Regions from separate parts of the Homo sapiens genome. Here region 1 is linked to region 2. Evidence: promoter capture Hi-C in human tissues and cell types (Jung and others, 2019). All regions are on one chromosome and are shown on one strand. The core of a region is centred on a gene start or on the middle of the fragment in contact, and the rest is flanking DNA. Distances in the headings are between cores, read along the strand shown.

Region 1 (2,820 bases), core at 240-2,739, 210 kb before region 2:
TCCTATACTTTACGAACACAGCTGTCCACACTGTACTCACAGTAAAATAATTTGTTTTCAAAATTATCCAGAGAAGTGTTCTTATAGTGGAATACAGGAGTATTCTTACTGCATTCTAGTTATCGTGTTTATGAATTAACTTAATAAATATTCCTGCTTCACTCTGCTCAGTAAGAAAGAAGGTGGCTCTCCAGATGTCTCGCTCATAAATATGTGAATTTAAATCACTCTCACCCAAACCTCACTCTTCACTTTCATCTTAATGCGGTTTGCTCATGGGCATCTCTGACCTCGCACATGTAACACTGGTCCCTTTTTAGCTCAGGCAGTAAATGAGGCAAGGATTAATCCCAAGAACACAAATGGAAATTTCATTGGGAAAAACATTTCAAGGGGCAGATATTTTTTTCGGACCCGTTTTAACTTCTGGTCTTGGTAGTTTTCTTTAGACGTTACTACAACTGGCCCATTCAACAGGCATCTTTAACTTCTAGAACTAAATACCCATTTCTTTACAATCTACTCCCTTGTTATAACCATATTCATATCAAGCCCAATTTTGTGGCTTCTTCCTTTGCTTTAAAATCAAGAGTAAATCTCAGAATAATTTTTTAAAAAGCAACTATAACCTAGCAATTTCTCCAGGTAAGATTTCCAAAAACAAACAAAACTGGGGCAAGTTTCCCATCATCAGAGGTAGGGTTCCATTTACCTCACTGTGGAAACATAGTGGAGAGACCAGTAAGATCCCTCCTACATGCTGATGATCTTTGGCTCCCAAAACTGCTATTTTAAGAATTTAACTGAGGTGACTTCCTTTGCTCAGAAAAATGTTTCACTAAAAATGGGAAAACTGGTTAGTCTTGCATATCTGAATAAATGAGTCATTAAAATTACAGTAGGGCAGCCTCTTCTATATTATAAATACCAGAAAAATATCCTGCTTTGAATTCTGATCTCTGTGCTAAGATTCCGGTTACTGAAAATGTAGGCACTAAAACACCTGATACATACATCTCTGAGTTGGTTGAGAACAAAGATCCTTTCTGAAGCCGTGACCATGGGGTGATAGGACATCTCAAAGAAGATAATTCCCAGGCTGAAGAGATCCACTTTCTGAGGGGGAAGAATAATTGCATTTAGAGAGCCTTGATATGAAAGTATAATTTACCAGGGAATTATAGGATAAGCATTGTTAGCTGAAATAAAGTTTGTAGGAGTACAAAACAGGTCACACTGGAAAAATGCGAAGATTTGTTCTTAAAAATTATGGTTATAAAGGCTAAATGATATATTTTGTATTCAGATGATGATAAAATATTTGGCATGATGTCTTTAAACATTTTCCTAGAAATTTTTTTTCTTTTTTGAGGCAGAGTCTCACTCTGTCACCCAGGCTGAAGTGCAGTGGTGCAGTCTCGGCTCACTGCAACCTCTGCCTCCTGGGCTCAAGCAATCCTTCCACCTCAGCCTCCCAAGTAGCTGGGACTACAGGTGTGCACCACCATGCCCAGCTAATTTTTTTGTGTGTATTTTTTGTACAGAGTGGGTTTTGCCATGTTGCCCAGGCTGGTCTCCAACTCCTGGACTCAAGTGATTCACCCACCTTGGCCTCCTAAAGTGCTGGGATTACAGGCATGAGCCAACACGCCTGGCCTTCCTAGAAAATTAATGGTAACTGGTTTAGTTGTATCCACAGACATAGAAAACCACTGGCTGAAAACTGGAAATAATGGCTGAAGAGCAAGGACAACTGAGATTGATCATAAGAATTTGCTTTGTTTCACATCTTAGCTAACCATCTTAAAAGTGAAACACAGACCAAAATCTGCGGCTGATAGAAAAGGCCAGCTCCTGACTACAGGGTCATATGGCCTTCAAAAAGAAGAGAATCTTGCCATTTGTGACAACATAGATGAACCTGCAGGACATTATGTTAGGTGAAATAAGCTAGACACAGAAAGGCAAATACTACATGATCTCACTGGTATGTAGAATCTAAATAAAAGTCAAACCCACAGTAACAGAGAACAGAATGATGGCTACCAGGGGCTGGGGACTGGGGGTCAAGGGGAGGTGCTGGTCAAAGGGCACGCATTTTCAGTTATAAAATGAATACATTCTGGAGATCTAAAGCACGGCATGGTGACTATAATTAATAATAACGCATTGTATTCTTGAGGTTTGCTAAGAAAGTAGCTCTCAAGCGTTCTTACCATACACAAAAAATGGAAACCAGGTGAGGTGATGGGTATGTCGGTCAGCTTCGCTGTGGTAATCATTTCACAATGTAAACATATATCAAAACATCACATTGTACACCCTAAATATAGACAAGTTTCATCAATCATACCTCCATAAGCTAGGAAAAAAATAAAAAATAAATAAAAATAAAAAGCTACAGAAAAAAACACTAAAGTCAAAAAACTAGAAGGATATAAATAATCAAGATAACTATTAAATAATTGACAAAAACAAAAAAAGTATCTACAATAAAAAGAAAAAAGAAGCAAAAAGGCAAGTCAGTGCAGAGAAAATCTAAGTAGGGTGCCACGAAGGAGAAGATGGCGTTGGGAAGGGAGTGCATCTGAGGAAACCGAGCATGACACAGCTGCCGAGGAAAAGACTGCACATGGTCAGGGGCACAGAGGTGCAGGGTGTAGAGCCGCTTTCAGGACAATGGAAAACATTTTCAAGCAATACTCTTGAATACATTTGGACTCAAAGAGGGGGCGGCGAGACTCTTGGATTGTCACTGGTGACCTCCGACATCTTAAAAACATTCACTGTGGCATTTCCTATACGTGTTGGCTATAGAAA
Region 2 (2,875 bases), core at 241-2,740:
AGGAACATAGGCTTTCATGGCACCAACTACAAACAAGACTGACTGATGAGATTGTGGCCATGTCTCTCCCAAGTGCTCCTGACCTGGTTCCTGAAAATGTTCACCTCAACCTCGAACTCAGCATTTCCTGTGCTGGTTTTCAACTTGACATTGGTGAATTTCTTCAGTAACATCTCTAGGTCGGCTGCTAAGTTTTAATTCTCATAGGAGGATTAGGATACTTTCTCCCATTTTCTTCAGTTTGCAACTTTTTTTCTTTTGAGATTTGGAAAGCCACATAAATTCCCTGAGAAATGCTGGGAAGAAATCCCTGCACAGAAACACTAACAATGAGGACAGTGAGGCTGGAACCAGGTTTACCAGGGGAAAGCAGTAGGTAGGAGTGGAGGTCAGAGAGCCAACAGAAAGCCTTATCATTTAGAGATGATGTCAGTATGAACCTGAATGGAAGCACTGAAGTTGTGACGAATGTTTGGATTCTGAATATATTTTGAATGTTGAGCTGATAGGACAAATAGATTGTAGAGTGAGAGAGGAAGAAGAATTGAGGATGACTCCAAGGTTTTTGGTCTAGGCATGGCAGGCTGAAATTACCATTTGCTGAGATGGATAGAAAGTGGGTGGGGGACTCTGGAGAAGTTGTTTTTTCCCGTGTTAAGTTTGAGATGCTTACACATCTAAGTGGATATGCCAAATAGGCAGTTAGGTAAAGGAGTCTGGAGTTCAGGGAAGTCTGGGCTGGTGATAAGATGCAGGATTCAGGAGCATAGGGATGGCATTTATAGCCAGGTTTTTATACCCAGCACTCGCCTAGACTGCAGCTGTGTTCTTTCGGCAACTCAGCCTACGACTATTTGCTTCGCTGAAAAAAAACCACATCGTACCTAGTTAAAACAATGAGGACAAAGGGGCCATGAATGTGAAAATGCCCTGTAAACGGTAATGTGCTGTTCAGACTGGAAAGCAGGAGAAATGATGGCAATGGAGGTGAGGAAAATCAGTTTGTGGACGTAGGGAAATAATTTTCGTGCACTGAGAATTAGAGAAACTACGAAATGAAAGAAGGTGCAAAAAGCAATTATAACTCTTTTTGGACTGTAGCCGAATCTGTGCAAAACTCATATTTTTAAAATTTCCATAGCACCCCAAATTTACTAGAGCTTCACATACATGGTCTTTTTGAGCTGCACAAGTCTTGTAAGAAGGGAATTATTATTGTTCCCATTTTACGGAGGAGGAAACTGTGCTCGGAGAGGATAACTGACCTGTAAGGCATCACAGCAATATGAGGGACAGAGATACACAAGCATCCAGACGTCCGCGTTCCGAATCCAACCTAAAGACGAAAAATCGCTCCCAACCCCCACCGTCGGCAGCGAAGACGGAAGGACACACGCCGGCCGTCCCAGCTCGCAGGGCTCCAACAGCCGCCGGCCCCGGTCCCATTTCCGGATGGTACAGCCCTTTCCGCTATCGCGAGACCGGAAGCATCGCGCATCTGGTTGCCAGGGAAACAGCGGTCCCACAGGCAGGAGGGATCTGGACCGGCGGCTTCTTCCACTACCAGAGAGGCTGAGGTGGCGGGAGAGACCCCTCTCCTCTGGGGGTAAGTGGCTGGCGCGGCGAGTGTCTGCGGCGCGCTTCTGCGGCCATCTGCGCCCTGACTGACGGCGGCCAGTTCCTCGAGGAGGCCCGGCGGGAAGGTGAGGGGCCGCGCAGATGAGGGCGGAGCTCGGTCGCGGGGCGGTGCGCCGAGGAGTGGGCGGGGCGGAGCTGCGTCGGGCCGCTTGGCATGTAGATGGACTGTCAGGGAGAGCGGACAGGGCCAATGAGAGGGCGGGGGCGGGCTCATTGGGGGCGGGGCCCCAGCGGCTTCTGCCTCCGCGGAGGCTATTTCTCCAGGAATCACCTAACATTAGGACCTGTAACCAAGGCTTCTACTTTCCCGAGATTTGGATCTTCCCACCAAGATCTAGAACTGATCACCAGCCATTTAAACTAGACCGTAAACGGCAAAGGATGCAAATAGGCATTTCACAGGAAAAATAAAAAGATGCAAACAGCAAACAATTGATTAGAGACTCAACTTTTCTCGTGAAGAAATGTAAACCAAATTCACAGATACCTTTTACACCTATGAGACTGGAGAAGATGAAACAGCTTTGACATAACCAGATGGGCCCCAGCCCAGTGTAGGGGAAGTAGTGTAATTTGGTGCAGCCTTTTTGGAGTACAATTTGGCGAACTACCAAAATTTGAAACATAAGTGTTCTTTGACTCAGCAATTCTAATATATTTTATGGATGTATGAGCATAACTAAAGAAAGATTGGCACAAATATATTAACTTAAAATTGAGGTATAACTTACTTATGGTAAGCCTCACCCATTTAATCTACAGTTCTGTGAGTTTTGACAAATGTATACAGTTATGTAATTACCAACCACCACAATCAGCATACGGAAGTTTCATCATGAACCCCAAATTCCCTAGTGCTCTTTGTATTTAATCCCTCCCCTAACGCCATCCCTGGCAACAACTTCCTAGTTTTTTGTTCCTGTAATTTTGCCTATTCCAGAATGTCATATTGATGGAAGCAAACACCCTGTGGCCTTTTGAATCAGGCTTCTTTCAGCTTAGCATCATGCAGTTGCTATTCATTCATGTTCTGTGTATCAGTTGTTCCTTTATGTTGCTGAGTAATAGTCCATTGTATGGATCTACGGTAGTATATTTATCCATTTCCTACTTGAGGCATATTTGGATGAGTTCTTTCCAGTTGTTGGCTATTATTGATGAAGCTGGTATAAATATTCATGTACAGGTTTTTTTTTGTGTGTGTGAATATGTTTTCATTTCTTGGGTAAATATGAAT

What was found. The method cuts DNA at HindIII sites, captures the fragments that hold promoters and counts their contacts. A contact is called where the count stands out against the background at its distance.
Region 1: a fragment that was not itself captured here is called in contact with the fragment with the promoter of FSIP1 in region 2 in 1 of the 25 tissues and cell types used here (IMR-90 fibroblasts).

The regions. Positions count from the first base shown.
Region 1 is chr15:39,995,260-39,998,079 of GRCh38, reverse strand. EIF2AK4 (eukaryotic translation initiation factor 2 alpha kinase 4) reads right to left here. Exons shown (of 39, transcript NM_001013703.4): 19 at 1,015-1,116. Among named protein-coding and RNA genes, the nearest start is that of SRP14, 43 kb to the left of the region's middle. The HindIII fragment of the contact is 8,851 bases long and covers 1-2,820 here.
Region 2 is chr15:39,781,456-39,784,330 of GRCh38, reverse strand. FSIP1 (fibrous sheath interacting protein 1) reads left to right here and starts at 1,490. Exons shown (of 12, transcript NM_152597.5): 1 at 1,490-1,703. LOC105370941 (a long non-coding RNA gene) reads right to left here and starts at 1,425. Exons shown (of 1, transcript NR_135665.1): 1 at 1-1,425. RefSeq lists an enhancer at 1,251-1,380 and a silencer at 1,681-1,860. The HindIII fragment of the contact is 15,521 bases long and covers 1-2,875 here.